Linked DNA regions of Homo sapiens: region 1 is linked to region 2. The links are contacts of gene promoters, found by promoter capture Hi-C in human tissues and cell types (Jung and others, 2019). All regions are on one chromosome and are shown on one strand. Each heading gives the region's core, a stretch centred on a gene start or on the middle of the fragment in contact. The rest is flanking DNA. Distances are from core to core; before and after follow the strand shown. Region 1 overlaps TMX4 (thioredoxin related transmembrane protein 4). Region 2 holds the start of HAO1 (hydroxyacid oxidase 1).

What was found. The method cuts DNA at HindIII sites, captures the fragments that hold promoters and counts their contacts. A contact is called where the count stands out against the background at its distance.
Region 1: a fragment that was not itself captured here is called in contact with the fragment with the promoter of HAO1 in region 2 in 4 of the 25 tissues and cell types used here (hippocampus, liver, mesendoderm cells and 1 more).

What each region holds. Positions count from the first base shown.
Region 1 is chr20:8,011,380-8,014,853 of GRCh38, reverse strand. The region is part of intron 1 of TMX4 (thioredoxin related transmembrane protein 4); the gene reads left to right. Among named protein-coding and RNA genes, the nearest start is that of TMX4, 6.6 kb to the left of the region's middle. The HindIII fragment of the contact is 6,626 bases long and covers 1-3,474 here.
Region 2 is chr20:7,938,409-7,941,786 of GRCh38, reverse strand. HAO1 (hydroxyacid oxidase 1) reads left to right here and starts at 1,329. Exons shown (of 8, transcript NM_017545.3): 1 at 1,329-1,501. The coding sequence starts at 1,365. The HindIII fragment of the contact is 11,188 bases long and covers 1-3,378 here.

The sequences.
Region 1 (3,474 bases), core at 720-3,219, 72 kb before region 2:
GCCCTCAGCTAGCCAGCACCCTGACTCACATGAGGGTAGGCCTTGTTCGTGCTGGATTCTAAGGCCCATCCAAGCTTTTACCATCTCTCTAGTTTCTGCAAGTAAAGAACATTTTTACTGTATACTCATTCCTGACACTGTTCACCACTTAAACAGGTGCCCTGCCTTCCCATCATCGCAATGCCCCAGGAAAATTCTTTCTCACTATGCTTTGGTTGTGTCTTGCATGGTCCTATCACAACCAGTAATTACACATTTATTGATATGCTTTTGTACTAGGTCTTTCTTTGACTACCTCTATTATAAGCTTTTAAGTAAAGGAACAAGGTTATTTTTTTCCTTCCCTGTTTATCTCCAAAGCTTTAATAACTAACAAGTAGTTTGTGTTCAAAAAATACTTTGTGACTAGGTAAATGAGTGAATAATAGATTAATTGCTCTTTTATCAGGCACTTCTTCAAGCATATCACTGAAGGAGACATCTTTATATATTTTCTGAAGTCTTAAGGATAATTACTATCATCTCCCATTTGTTCACTGATGGAATATTTATTGTGGTGGCCTAGGACCTTCCAGGTTCTGTTCTGTGGTGCAAGTCATGCAGCAGTCACTGCTTTCGTGGAGTGTTAATTCTAGTGAAAGTCATGAATTCCACTTTCTCTAGCAGGTGTCATGATTTTCATAGAGCTGCCAGTTTTTATGTTTCCTCTACCTTTTGTGATAACACGTTCTAGAAATTATTGTCCAAAGAAATAAATTTGAGCATAAGGCTTTCAATTCATGGGTCATTCCACATTTGCCAAAAGGAAGAATAACACTTGATGTAGTTAAGGCATCTTTTGTTGACACTTTGATTTAGTTTCCTTTATTAAGTCATAGAAAGATGAACCTAGTATACCTCTTTCCTCTTCATTGTTGCTGAGTATTCTGAGCATTTTGATCAAAGTTCTACTAAGTGAAAATTGACTGGATCTGTTATTGACTGTCTCATTTCTGCAAAGATAAGAAAAAGTCAGGAGAAAAGAGAGTGTACTGAGAAACACTGGTGAAATTAGAGTCAAGACAGAAGAAGAGTTGTTCATTATTGGTAAATAAAAATTTATCGTTAATAAAATTTCCTTTCTAGGAAATAAATATAAGTAAGTCCTTCTCTGAAATATTTAGCACACCTAATGAAATCTTAAACCAAATTCAGTAAGTTCATGGAATAAAAGATTCAAGGTCCTTCAACCTCGTTCCATCAACAAAACACGGACAACATGGACAACAAAAACATTCTGTTGAACAAAAAACGTGGACAACAAAAACATGCTGTTGAATTTTGTTTCCCAGAAATGGTTAAAAACATTGCACTGACATGTAAGTTGGTGTAATTTACCAGAGCTTTTTGGCTATCTGGAATATATTTCAAATATGTTTATGAAGTTTACTAATTTTACATACCACTGTGACCTGCAAACAAGTCAACAAAAGTTCAGTAGAAAAGATAACAATTTACAGTTTAAATGACTATAATGGAGCTAATTGCTCTTGGAGGCTCTTAAGGATTATGTGTAAGAGACAAAGTTATGGCAGGTCATATCTTTTATAGTTCTTAGGAGAAGATTGCCAGTGTGAACTAGTTTGAAATAAATTTAATGAAGATCATGTTCAATTATTTCTGATGTGTTTAATTTATGCATATATACATAAATTATATATATATGTATCTATGTGTACACAGAGTGAGAGAGGAGCATGAAGGTCACATGACTGATCCTTGCATTCATTTTGTCCCTGGAGATATTTTACTTAGTTTCTAAATTCTTATACAAATTACTGTTCTTTAGATACAAAAGAATATTAAAAACTTTAAAAACTGCAGCAACAATGGACCAGTTCCCATGCTAAAGACTCAGAGCTGGCTTATCTCTACCACTGAAAGAACATCTGGGTGCATTCCAACACAAATCAGCTGTGATTAAATCTGTGAAATAATGGCATTAACAATGCCACAGACCAGTGTATAGCAGCTATGTAGAAATGGCATATCTAAAATTACCTCAGTGGCATATCCGAGGATGCATTATAATTGTATATCTGAAGGTCAGTTTCACCAAAAACCAACTTAGTAATAGCCTATCTAGAGATTAAGTCCTGTATTTTTTAAATTATGAAACATAATTACTGATGCAGCAAATGTGCCTGTGATTTATATGCAAAGAGCGTCCTAGGGAAATAAAGAGGATCTGAAGTTCATTATATTATATTATACTTCAAGATAACTTCCTTATTCTTGTTACTTTCTTATAACTTCTTTCTCCCTCTGAATGTTGAAGTTTTATATTCCTTGACGATTTTTATCAAAGAAATACCTCCATCTGTGTTCTTGCTCTGAGTGGTCTTAAGCACATCTCTATACCTGCTTTGTCTGTTTGGCAGTGAGGCTGTAAGGTCAGATGAGCTAATGCATCGTAAAAGTGTCTTGAACCCCAAGCAGTATTACAAATGAAATTTGTATTAATGGTTGCTCCTATTAAATAAATATGTGCCTGCTTCGTATTTCATCTGATCTCTCAGTAACCTAAGGTAGCTACTGTTATTATCCCATTTTACAGTTGAGGAAACTGAGGCATGGAGAGATTATTAACCTGCCCAGAATATCATGATTAATTCCTGGTTGATCTTTCTGATTGTTATAGCAGAACTCTTATCCAACATCATGGAACGCTTGTTGAAATGTACTTGATAATTCAGAATTCCTTTTTTTCCTAAAGTTTGCCAACTGCCTGAGTCTCATCTGTTAACTTGGATATTTAGAAACTACATAGAAAATAACTTATTTTCTCAGATGAAGAATATGATTTTCATTAAAGTTGATACACTTGTTTATTCAGCAAACATTTATTGAACACCTACTGTATATCAAGAATGTACTTTGCCTTGGAAATACAGAGACACGAAGGTTTAAAAAAATCTACATTCAAAGATGTCAGCAGATTATTTTGTTGTTCCTGTCTTCTGGATCTCAGGATTTGGACAGTGAGCTGTAATGGAAAGATTAATGATGTTTTAGCATGATCTTGGAATTAGCTATATAGTAGTCTTTTCTAGAGATGGTGAACAACTGTGCTTGCTAAGTCTTGCTGCTTCTGGGGCCTGTCTGGAGAAAGTAATGAATGCTTTGGCTTTGGGTAGTCCATTCTCTTCTGGGTTCTGCCTAATTTTCAGTACTTTTTGTGAAATAAATGCATTCCTTCCCCTAGTCTTCGCTTTTTAACCCCTGACTCATCTTTTATAATGCGAAAGATCAAAATCTTGCCCAATTTCAGTTTTTGTTTTTTGTTTTGTTATTCAGCAAAGTTGGTTTATATGTGTCATTGCATTGATTTTTTTTTTTAATGATACTTACCAGCATGCTTTTGCACAGTTCAGAATTTTGAAGGGATTTGTAAATGATGACCTGACAGGCAACTTTGAGCCTAAATCTTGTTAC
Region 2 (3,378 bases), core at 80-2,579:
CCAGAGAACATTATGCTAAGTGAAATAAGCCAGGCACAAAAGGGAAATTATTGCATTATTTCACTTATAGGTGGGATTTTGTTTTAAAAAAGACTTCAAATGCACAGAGCTAGAGAATGAAACAGTGAATACCACTAGTGGGAAGCAGGGAAGAGGAAAAGGGGTGATATAGGTCAAAGGATACAAAATAGTAGACACGTAGGATACATAAATCTACAACAGGGTCCCTAACCTTTTCGGCACCAGGGACAAGTTTTGTGGAATACAATTTTTCCATGGGCAGTGGGGGTAGGTGGATGGTTTTGGAATGAAACTGTTCCACCTCAGATCATCAGGCATTAGATTCTCATAAGGAGTGGCGCAACCTAGATCCCTCGCATGTGCAGTTCACAATAGGAGGCGGAGCTCAGTCTGTAAAGCTTGCTCACCGGCTGCTCACCTCCTGCTGTGCAGCTTGGTTCCTAACAGGCCACGGACCAGTACCAGTCCATGCTGGGGAGTTTGGGACCCCTGGTCTAGAGAGCAAACGTGCAAAATGAGGACTAAAGTTAATAAAATTGTATCATATTAGGAATTTTTGTTAAATAAGTTGATTTTAGCTGTTCTTGTCATACACACAAAAAAGTAATTACGGGTGAGATGATACATATATTATATTGGCCTCCCTACTGTAACCATTTTTCTGTGTATATGTATCTCATAATATCATGTTGTAAACCTCAAATATACAGAATGAATAAAACAATTAGCTGTCAATTTGGCCTTAATGTTCCATGTTAAAGCCAAATGTCTATGTTTGTAATCAGCTAAATTTTATATTGTGCAGAAGCCCTGAATTTCACGGATGCCCCATATTTCATGGATGCCCCGTTCAGTTCATAAGCTCTTGTTTACATGATTTGTGCATGATCCAAATGTGGAAAGAAAATGAGTGGGCAGCCTATTCTGGGTATCAAGCAAAGAGCACAGGCACAGACCATGTGCAATAAGCAGCCTTAGGCAAAACTGAACCAAGAGTGGTTTCATACAGGTATTCCTCTAAGTCTTTAATTTTTTACTTATTCCTTTCCCCTTTTTAATGTGATAGACACCTAATCACCTTCTGCTGCCTTCCCAACCTCAACTTTGGTGTTCTTTGGCAGATAGTGACTTCGGTGTTCTTTGGCAGATAGCCTACAAATGAAATTTCAAAGGCTAAGCATATAATGTTTGCTCACTTGATGTAAGCAACAGAGAACTAAATCTGAACTTTGGCAAAAGTCTATTAATAATTGACAAATAACAGAACAGTGAGGATGTAGAAAGCAATACATTAAAAAAAAAAAAACAACGAACTCCATCTGGGATAGCAATAACCTGTGAAAATGCTCCCCCGGCTAATTTGTATCAATGATTATGAACAACATGCTAAATCAGTACTTCCAAAGTCTATATATGACTATTACAGGTCTGGGGCAAATGATGAAGAAACTTTGGCTGATAATATTGCAGCATTTTCCAGGTAAGAAAATTTATTTTTTAAAATCATGTTTTAAAATTACACAAAGACCGTACCAAAATAAGATCTCCTAGTTTTACGTTGGTGGTGTGTAATTATTTGTTCAGATTTGTGCTTAGTAGAGAGGGAAAAGTTCTTGGGGCTGTAAGAAATCTTGGGCCTTTAAATTGTTAAAAAATATTCCAAGCCTGTGAATCTTGAGGAACTGACTGCAAAAGCCAAACCTATGTTACTTCACTTGGAAATATGACAACAATTAATTTAACTACATGTAAAAATAGCGATAAATTCGGATGACTTTTCTTTTTCTTAGTATGACAGTAAATGCTTATGTTCATGGTGTAGGAAACAGCATTAAATGCCAGATAACCATCTTATCCGGATGAACCAGACTGGATTGTTGGCTCAAATGTTTTCTTCCTGCTGGCTTTTCGTGTTATCATTCATTTTGATTACTGTTGTCTAAACTTTCACTTTAGATTTCAATTTGTCTATGCAGCATTAATCTTTCAACTTTGCTGTTTCATCTCTCCTTCAAAGCACTTCATCTCTCTTCCCAAATTAGTTTTCCTTTGACTTTCATATTTCAAAGCACAAGATGGTGGGTGACATGGTTTATGTTTTCTGTTTGTAATAAAAACAAGAAATAAAATCATTTCAAAGGGTTTTTTTTTATAGCAGTTACAAAAATGGTTTATTTGCTGGAGCAAGAGAGGAGTGCCTTCACTACACTACACTCAGTCTCATCCATCTAACATTATGGCTGTTAGTAAAGGCAATCGGTATTGTGGGTACTCATTGATGGTGATAAAGACAAAAAGGCAGAAAATATGCAGGGGGAGAGAATTAGCCTTCCTCCCTGATTTCTTCTTTAGTCTACAACAAAATCACTCAAAATCAGTTTTCCATATTTAAATTAGGAGAAATAAAATTATCCTGGCCAAGGTGGTCTCTGGTAGGCAGCACTGATTCACCCACAAATCCATGTAGAAGACTGAAAATGGCAATGGGGTGAAGGATACGGCCTCTCCCCAACCCTTTCAAGCCTTGACTTTGTCTCAGGTTTTGCCTGGAACCCAAATGAGCTCAACAAATGCCAGGGAAGTCATGGGAAGGGAAGTTGACTGAGAGTAGAGGGGCTTAAAATTCTGCATCATTATTTACTATTTTGGACTCATTTAAAAGTTTCTGCTCTTGGAAGATGCCCCTTCTTGGGCCGATATTAACTTTGTCCACCAAAATTTGCCTATGAGTGGTCTCTTGAAAACACTTTAACCCAAATAGGTTATTACAACCAAGGAAATTTCAGACCCTTGACAGATTTATAGAGTTAGTGTCTCAGCATTGCTAGACCTCCAATGCTCAAGTGATTATTTATTTCATTTGTATACAGCTTTCCTTACTTCTTAATTCCCTTTGTCGCATGCTAGCTAATTAACTAGAGCTAATTAGGAGTCTCCATGAGCTACACTGTGTACTACATGCTGAGGACAAAGCAGTGAGCCAGACAAAGTTCCTGTCCCTAGGAACTTACATTCCCCTGGATGCATATCAGCCTCCATAATGCTGTTGGGTTGAATTGATGCAAAATGGGCCCAAAATAGTTGGCCAAGTGGAGGTCTCAGAGAGGATGCAAAGGGGCGCCCCAAAGCAGATGGATCACCTATGCAACCCTTTAAAATGTAGAAACTTTGGGAGACATAGAAGGCTTGGTGACTTCTAAGTTATGAACTGGAAAAGTGCCTCATGCCTTATGTGAATTACATGGTATTCAAGTGAGTATTCCCATCCTATGTGTGTACCGAGTAACTTAGGGATAGGACACAGATAATGAAAATGAATTTGCAGTGTCACCTTTTCCATGAACCTTGATCATTCTC